Regions from separate parts of the Homo sapiens genome. Here region 1 is linked to region 2. Evidence: promoter capture Hi-C in human tissues and cell types (Jung and others, 2019). All regions are on one chromosome and are shown on one strand. The core of a region is centred on a gene start or on the middle of the fragment in contact, and the rest is flanking DNA. Distances in the headings are between cores, read along the strand shown.

The links. The method cuts DNA at HindIII sites, captures the fragments that hold promoters and counts their contacts. A contact is called where the count stands out against the background at its distance.
Region 1: a contact is called between a fragment that was not itself captured here and the fragment with the promoter of PCDHA11 in region 2, in 2 of the 25 tissues and cell types used here (mesendoderm cells and neural progenitor cells).

The regions. Positions count from the first base shown.
Region 1 is chr5:141,053,862-141,058,247 of GRCh38, reverse strand. PCDHB1 (protocadherin beta 1) reads right to left here. Exons shown (of 1, transcript NM_013340.4): 1 at 1-4,386. The coding sequence ends at 4,321. PCDHB1-AS1 (PCDHB1 antisense RNA 1) reads left to right here. Exons shown (of 4, transcript NR_105056.2): 2 at 398-498. It also overlaps PCDHB@. Among named protein-coding and RNA genes, the nearest start is that of PCDHB1, 4.7 kb to the right of the region's middle. The HindIII fragment of the contact is 4,957 bases long and covers 1-4,013 here.
Region 2 is chr5:140,865,792-140,870,488 of GRCh38, reverse strand. It overlaps PCDHA11 (protocadherin alpha 11), which reads right to left and starts at 1,532. Exons shown (of 4, transcript NM_018902.5): 1 at 1-1,532. The coding sequence starts at 1,385. The region is part of intron 1 of PCDHA1 (protocadherin alpha 1); the gene reads right to left. The region is part of intron 1 of PCDHA2 (protocadherin alpha 2); the gene reads right to left. The region is part of intron 1 of PCDHA3 (protocadherin alpha 3); the gene reads right to left. It also overlaps PCDHA4, PCDHA5, PCDHA6, PCDHA7, PCDHA8 and PCDHA9, and 3 more genes. RefSeq lists an enhancer at 1-419. The HindIII fragment of the contact is 18,501 bases long and covers 1-4,697 here.

The sequences.
Region 1 (4,386 bases), core at 286-2,785, 190 kb before region 2:
ACTAAGGAGCCATAACAAATGCTTTGCAGGATCCTGGATTGGATCCTTGAATAGAAAAAGGACATTGGGGGAAAACTGTTAAATTTGAATAAGATCTGTAGTTTACTTCATAGAATTATACCAAGGTTAATTTCTTAATTTTGATAACTACTATGGTTATATAAGATGTTAGCATTCCGGGAAGTTAGGTGAAGGATATACAGGAACTATCTATAGTATTTTTGCAATTTTATGAGTCTAGAATTATTTCCTAATAAAAAGCCTTTTTGTACAAGACACTTTTCAAGGTTCTTAGGTTATAGCTTTGAATACATAGAAATAGTTATAATATCACTTGACACTTTGGAGAGAGTAATTGCCCTAATTATTTCCATTCTTTGTCTTAATTTGCTGATAGAGACCTGGACTTAATCTCAGCTGGTGTACAGAGTTCTCTCCAAAAACAAGTGGCCTACTTCACATTCAGTGAATTGATATATTCTTATTTTAAGTTATCAGGTAGGATTGGAATTTTCTTGGGAACTTGAAGTCTGAATAAAATTAGAGTGACAAAATTTTCACCTAAGGCAAAAATAAGAAAAATGGTGGCAAAATAATTTTTTATTAAATCGATACATTTTTTAAATTTAAAGGATGGTTTCTTTTATGAGATTGTTATCTTACCTTTTTTTTTCTTTTTTCTTTTTTTCTTTTTTTTTTTTTTTTTTGAGACAGAGTCTTGCTTTGTCGCCAGGCTGGAGTGCAGTGGCATGATCTCAGCTCACTGCAACCTCCACCTCCTGGGTGCAAGCAATTCTCCTGCCTCAGCCTCCCAAGTAGCTGGGACTACAGGCACATACCACCACACCCAGCTAATTTTTGTATTTTTAATAGAGACATGGTTTCACCATGTTGGCCAGGATGGTCTCCATCTCTTGACCTTGTGATCCATCTGCCTCAGCCTCCCAAAGTACTGGTATTACAGGTGTGAGCCACCATGCCCAGCCTATCTTAACCATTTTTATATTAAAATGCCATTTCGTTTATGGAATAATGGTGGCGTGAAGTGGTAGATTTTATCTCATTTAATGTGAAAAAATAAAAAGTTGACAAATCTACATCTTCTGTCCATTGTGTATGTGTGTATATATGTATTCATGAATTTCACTGCTATTTGAATATCAAAGTCTTAAAATCATGAATCTACACCATTTTCTTTTCCTATCCTTGACATTAAGCCAGTTTCCATTGATTATGTTCACATCATTAAGTGTAATGAAACACAGTTAATACAGTAGCTTTTACTTAAGCATGTTTTATTAACTAATTATTGCTTACCCATAAAAATTAATTCTAGGCTGGGCATGGTGCTGTAATCCTAGCACTTTGGGAGGCCAAGGCGGGTGGATCACCTGAGATCAGGAGCTCGAGACCAGCCTGGCCAACATAGCGAAATGCCAACATGGCGAAGCCCCGTCTCTACTAAAAACACAAAATTTAGCTGGGCGTGGTAATGTATACCTGTAGTCCCAGCTACTCAGGAGGCTGAGGCAGGAAGATCACTTGAACCCAGGAGACGGAGTTTGCAGTGAGCCGAGATCATGCCACTGTACTCCAGCCTGGGTGACAGAGCAAGACTTTGTCTCCAAAAAATAAATAAATAAATAAAAATTCTATCTCCTTTTTCATTTAAAGGAAATAGAAATTTCAGCATGCCTTCACCAATTGGAACACAAATACACTGGAACACTTATTCTATGTTTTGTGCAAGAAAACCTTTACTCTAAATCGGAATCATAACTCAATGTATGTAAAATATTTAATATTAAAAATAAAAGCAATTCATTGATATAGTGCATTTGCTTCATCTGTTCTTTAACATTTTAACATTGAAGGCAGCCATAGGTTACACCAGTTCTGCCCTAAGCATCTCTAACATCTAAAAAATAACAGCACTAAATTTTAGTGTATTCCTGGCCAACAGGTAAACAGCCAGGTGGTGCCATTAGGTATCAGTCATTAAGTCCAAGAATGAAGTTTGTATCAATAAACATGATTTGGTATATTTAAGAAGTATTTTAAAAGATAATGCTCTACCCTTAAAATACCAAGAGGATGTATTCTAGTGAGTCTGAATTTACACACATTTTTATAAAATAAGGAATATAATTAAAGCCTCATTAAAGCACACTTTTTTTTTTTTTGAGATGAGGTTTCACTCTTTTGCCCAGGCTGGAGTGCAGAAGTGCAATCATAGCTTACTGCACCCCTGAACTCCTGGGCTTGAGCAATCCTCCTCCTTCAGACTCCTGAGTAGCTGGGACTACAGGTATGAGCCACCATGCCCTTCTCTAAAGCAAACTTTTGACTTTCAAGGCACAGTTAGCAGTGTTGGGAGAATCCCTGAAATATGTTAATGTTTTAACATTGGCTTATTTTAGAATGAGAGGGCTCAGAATAGCTTATGAAATCAAACAGTGGTGATCAAAGAGAAGCTTAAGTTGTCTCCCCACTCCATTTCATTTTATGAATGATTTACTAAAAATGCCACTTTTTCTCAGTTTGCATGTGTTAACTTCAGAATACTCAGAGAGGAAAATGGCTTACAATCAAATCTAGTACTACCTGAAAATGTGTCTTTCCTTAATGCCACTTAATTAGTATTAATGAACTTTTTAATTTTAATGTCTTTTTATTTTATATTTGCTCTACAAACTACAAAATGGTTTACAATAAATGTTGTGTACACTTAATGGCACAAAATAGTTTAGAGTGTTCTGTAACACTTATTAACTACAGCAGGCCTTATGTATTTATGTATTTATGTATTTATTTTTATGTTTTTGAGACAGCGTCTCACTCTGTTGCCCAGGCTGGAGTGCAGTGGCACAATCTCAGCTCACTGCAACCTCCACCTCCCAGGTTCAAGCGATTCTCCAGCCTCAGCCTCTTGAGTACCTGGGATTACAGGTGCGTGCCACCACGACTGACTAATTTTTGTATTTTTAGTAGAGATAGGGTTTTGCCATGTTAGCCAGGGTGATCTCGAACTCCTGACCTCAGGTGATCTGCCTCCCTCCGTCTCCCAGAGTGCTGAGATTACAGCCATGAGCCACGGTGCCCAGCCGTCATACTTTATTTTTTTCCTCACCCACCCTCCATTTCCGTTTTTTCAAATAGATTTTCTCTGGGACTGCAAGGATAGACATCTGGATATAAAAGAGGGAGATTTGAGACTTGCCTATGGCTCCAAACAATCAAGAAATCAAATCTGGCTGGGCGTGGTGGCTTATGCCTGTAATCCCAGTGCTTTGGGTTTCCGAGGCTGGTGGATCACCTGAGGTCAGAAGTTCATGACCAGCCTGGCCAACATGGTGAAACCCCGTCTCTACTAAAAATACCAAAAAATTAGCTGGGCATGGTGGCGCATGCCTGTAATCCTAGCTACTCAGGAGGCTGAGGCAGGAGAATCGCTTGAACCCAGGAGGCAGAGGTTGCAGTGAGCCGAGATCGTGCCATTGCACTCCAGTCTGGGCAACAAGAGAAAAACTCCGTCTCAAAAAAAAAAAAAAAAAAAAAAAAAACAACTACATCTAATTTAATTTTGGAGAACATTCCTAAACTGAATCTCTTTATCCTTATGTCTGCCCTTATTCACATTTGCAAATAAGTGAAATCCTTTTCTTTCTCCACCCTTCCTCCCACCATGATTATTTGTGAAGATCACCATTTACCAGGCATTTCCATGATTATGATTATGAATGATTGCAGGCAAGGTATTGATCAAAGATAATCACTCATCAGGGACAAGAATTTAGAGATTCCTGAATAATAAACTATATCTCTGCTTGTCAAACCTAATCACTTCCCAATATATCAAAAAGGGAAGGTAGTTCTCTTCCCTATGCATGCATAACTTTCTACTGGAAAATAATTTAGAGGCAAATAAAAGGATCTCTCTATGGAACTAAGTATTTCCTGGGCCAGGACCAATGAACTTCTAAGGAAAATGTGAATAATGGCTTATTCATTACTTGCTAGCACAGAGATGGAAAAGCAGAAGTTCCTACCACATATGCATTTATAGAGGGTGACATTTCTTTAAACAGAATTCCAACTGGAGAAAGGGTTATAGATATATGATCTGGGGATCAGGATAACTGCTTTGTATTGAGTAAGCCTAGCCTCACTCTAGGTTTCCCATTTTCACCAAACTAAGTACTCTTATCTTTACTAAAGCTGCAATCTACTACCAGTTTTTGTTTTAATGAGGATGTAACATCTTTGCATACCAAGTATAAAATTTTGCTTCTCTTCTCTCACTGAGCCTGTAAATAGGAGCTACATATAGTCATCAGATACCTGGTCATGGCCCTCTAATCTCTGAGACTTATTCCTATCAGAATT
Region 2 (4,697 bases), core at 283-2,782:
AACACGGTGTACTCGGGCTGTGCGAACGCAGGCGCATTGTCGTTCACGTCGGCCACCTCCACGGATACCCTGGCCGTGGCCCACAGAGAAGGCGAACCCCCATCCCGCGCAGTCACCACCAGTTCATAGGCCCACACGTTCTCGCGGTCCAGGGCGCTGTCCAGCACCAACGAGTAGTAATTCTTGAAGGTGGACACCAGCTTGAAGGGAACGTGGGGCGTCAGCGAGCAGGTCACCTGTCCGTTGACACCTGAGTCACGGTCAGACACGCTGATCAGGGCAATGACCGTGCTGGGCTGAGCGTCCTCTCGTACTGGGAGGGACAAGGAAGTCACGGCGACTTCAGGAGAGTTATCGTTGGTGTCCAAGATTTCCACCCAGACTGTACAGTGACCTGCCATTGGGGGAGTCCCCTTATCTGTAGCCTGTACTTCAATTTTATAAAACTTGTTTTCTTCATAATCTAAAGTTCCATTGACCCTCACTTCTCCATTATTTTGATCTAGTGTAAATAAGTGTCTTCCATTGGGCTTAATTGACATTAAGGAGTATGTTACCTCTCCATTGACTCCTTCGTCTCGGTCTGTGGCGTTTAGTTTGAGCACAAGAGTTTCTTTAGCAGCATTTTCCATAAGGCTCACCTTATATTCTGATTTATCAAACTCTGGATCATTGTCGTTGACATCCAAGACTTGGACTAACAGCCGAACGGTGCCAGTAAGCTCTGGTTTTCCCCCGTCTGTAGCTGTTAGCAGCAAATTAAGTTCCGGAGTTTTCTCTCTATCCAGAGACTTCTTTAAAATAAGTGACAGTCTTTTAATCTGCTTACCATTTGTTGGTGAATCTAAAGAAAAATACTCATTTTTACTTAGCCTGTAGGTCAATAGAGCATTCTCTTCAATGTCAGCATCAGAAGCTCCCTCTAGTGGAAAACGCGAGTCCGATTGCTTAGATTCCGCAATCAGCAGCTTTTGTTCTCTGAGCGAGAACACCGGCGGGTTGTCGTTAATGTCCTTCACCTCCACGTTCACATGGAAAACCTGCAGCGGCCTGTCCACGATCACCTCCAGGTGGATGCTGCACTCCGCGCTCTGCCCGCACAGCTCCTCGCGGTCGATCCGAGAATTCACAAACAAAATGCCATTCTGCAGATTTACCTCCAGAAGGTCCCCATGTGTTTTGGACGCCACCCGGAACAGGCGCTGCACCAGCTCCGCCAGCTCCAGCCCCAGGTCCTGCGCGATGCGGCCCACGAAGGTGCCGTGTTTGGCCTCCTCCGAGACGGAGTAGTGGAGCTGGCCGCTCCCCACCTCCCAGAATTCGAGGAGGAGAAGCCAGAGCTGTAGTCGTGGGGTGCCCAATCCCCTTCTCTGAAAACCAAACATCGCATACGAAATTGGCTTCCAAAATAAGCTTCTTTACACTTACAGTACCAGATTCTTCAGTTTCAGGTTAAAAATCTCGTTGAATTCTTAAGAAGTTTCAAAGGATCCTTAAACGGTGGCATCCGGTATGATGGAGTTCCTTTGTATGGGAGTGCCTCACTGTTCAGACCAACCTTTAAATGAACTTTCCACCAAGTAAAGAGCGACACCTTGCGCCTAAAACTGTGAGTACTGTGCACTGCATTTACCACCACAGAATTTCACGTGTTTTGGGTTTCTTCCCCCAAATATTTCCAACGTGCTTATTTATGGAATATTCAGATTATAAGTCATATTGAAACTAAATATATATGGAAATGGCATTGTATTTCTCGATTAACATCAAATTTAAATTATTGTGTCTATGTTTGACTTAACATTATAACATTGTTCTTTTACTTATCTAAAATACTTATACACAGAGTGAGAGAGAAAGAGAATTCAGTTGTTAAGGTGGCCTCATGAAAAACTAGGGTTAAACATTTCCTGAAAGTGTTGTTCCTCATATAAAAATACTATCAAATTTGAATTGTTTTACTTTCAGTCTCCCTTGTTACTTTGGCTGCTAGGGAACTCAAAGAAAAAATTGAAGTTTTATAAAAGCAGCTCTTTAGTGTTTATGTTCCACATGATCTATTCTCATCTCTGTGGGCTTGCATTTTCATATCTATTTTCTATAGTTCTCATTCTTTACTGTTATTTACATTTAATTGCTTTCTGATTATAAGTGACTTTATATTCATTGCAGAACAATATGAAAAACAAATATATTCATATTCTCAAACTTGGTAGTTTTAAAAAAGAATCCACAAAGGAAAAGTCTATTGATCTAGATGAGTTTTTATTTGACATATATTATTTCTAATGTAAGCCATAGTAGCATAATATGAGATATCAAAATTTAGCACTTTATGTAACAGAATCAATGATATGACAGAAATAGGCTTTTCAACTATAAAATAAATTTTATTATCATTTTATAAAATAAATAAAATCACCCTGAACATCTTTGTGCCATATTGGTATTTCCAAGTCACCAACATTGGTTTCCTTAATCTAATTCAGTTATATTCATGAAAATAGTTTGTTTCTTGTTGAAAGAATTTTGGGTTTGGGAGCAGAAGTTCATGGAAAACAAGGGAAGTGATTTTTAATTATACCTTCTGTAAGTACCTGATATTGTGCTTAAAACATAGAAAATTAATCAAACAATTCAACTAAATGGTAAATTACCTTAGTGCTTGTGGAAATGGAATTTCATAGAAAATGCTAAGTAAAATACAGGAATTGCTTATGAGAGTTTTCTTTGCCTGAAGTTGTAACTTGCTTGAATTTTCTTTGTCTTTTCATATACCCTTAGGATTTAGGAGGAAAAAAAGAAGATGCAACAAAATTTTAGAGTAGAAAGTGATTTAGAATAAATATCACTCTAGCTTAAATATTTTGTTCTATAGTTTTGATGGTTTATCTCCAATCTAAAAATACTGCAAGGGCATATGAAAAAGTTATCATATGTGTATGCTAATATTTTATATATATATTCAACTATTAATTTGAGATTTTGTTCTACTTTTTTCATATTTACTCTTTTCCCAATGTTGTCATAACACTAGAACTCTAATTCAGGTAAATGCAAAATTCTGTATTAAAAAATTAAAGGAGACATATCAACTTTTATAACCGTTAATTCCATTACGCATCTGTAAAATAATCAATCATAGTAGCCTCTAATCAAAACATAACATTAGACCAGATGACAGTATATTCAACATGATATTTGAAGCACATCAGGTTTATTTTGAACAAAAGGAAACAACAGATCCTCAATCACCTTATTATGGGAATTGGGGATGAAGATGTTACATGGAATGTGGAGTCTTGCGAGGTAGGGAAATGAACCTTAGAAGGTTTACTCTGGAAAAATGATAATATCACATATTTGAATTAAAACAATATGTTAATTTAGGTGTTAATTTCCAACAATACAGTATTTTGTGAATATATAAAGTAGTACTGAACAAACGCCAAGTCATAAAAGAGTTTGATATAGTGTATGAATCAATGACCCATCTTTTGCATTTTGGCTGTGATATTTCAGATGTCACCATCTCAACCAGCCCCTAGTGAAGAGATTATGCGCCCTTTGAACTCATCTTTGAGGATCAGCCTAATATCTGGGTATAGGCTAATACCAAGAAGTCATTTCAATACAGTTATTGTTAACTGATTTTGTAAAATCAATTGAAGATTAAGGAACTTTGTGCCTGACTTTTACTATATCAGTCAGGACATACAATCTGCCTGTATGTCCTGTTAGTCATATAAGTATTAGAGTGCATAGTTTAATGTCTTACTAGTGCACGTCATCCACTGATATTCTAACAGACCTAGTGCTATTATTTCTTGAAAACACATAAATAAATTTTGACACCGTTGTCAGAACCCCAGGAGGTTCTCCAAAACCAACAGATTAGAATTACATTATCCAACCACTGTATTAACAAAATTATAGGATTTATTCCGTGATGCTAATTCTGCTCTATCATGGCTTAGTCAAGTAAAAACAGTTATTTGGTCACAAATCATTTGTCAGTTGTTATGAGCTTCCCAGCCAACAATAAGACTGAAGAAGACTGAAAGACCTACACACATTTGAAGATTTTCATGGGAATCTATGTCTTTAAAATTGTTATTGAAGTATGCAATATTGTAAACATTTCTTGAATCCTTTGGCCAAGTTCAGGGTCCCTGAAATAATAATATCAACATCTATACTTGTCCCAAACACTGTCTTTATTCACAGTAAAGAAAGAAGGGTGTCATTTTTGGTATATAGTATTTAGTTTAGGTGTTCCACAAGGATATTGGAAACCACAGTTTTCTGACTTTTCTTACATGTTAAACGATTCTTACTTATATCACTTCCAAACAACAGATACGTAGTTCTTATAAGGCAACTCTTAATTACTTAACAATTACATAACCAAAATACCTATCTCAGTGTGGCATTGATTAAAACAAATGATAATGATGATCACGAACTCTTACAAGAAAAAAATCACTTAACATAAAAAAACTTAGTGCCATCTCAATCACACATTGTACAAAATTAATGATGAAGACAATCATGAAGTTTCTTCTAAGCACAACAGAAAGAAAGATTTGCCTGTACACAATTTGTGCTTGATTTTCCTAGCCGAGACCATGTTTGAGCAGAGAAATGACTTACTAAAGAAAGCTCTACATTATAGTGGATAAAAGAATGAGTCTGAA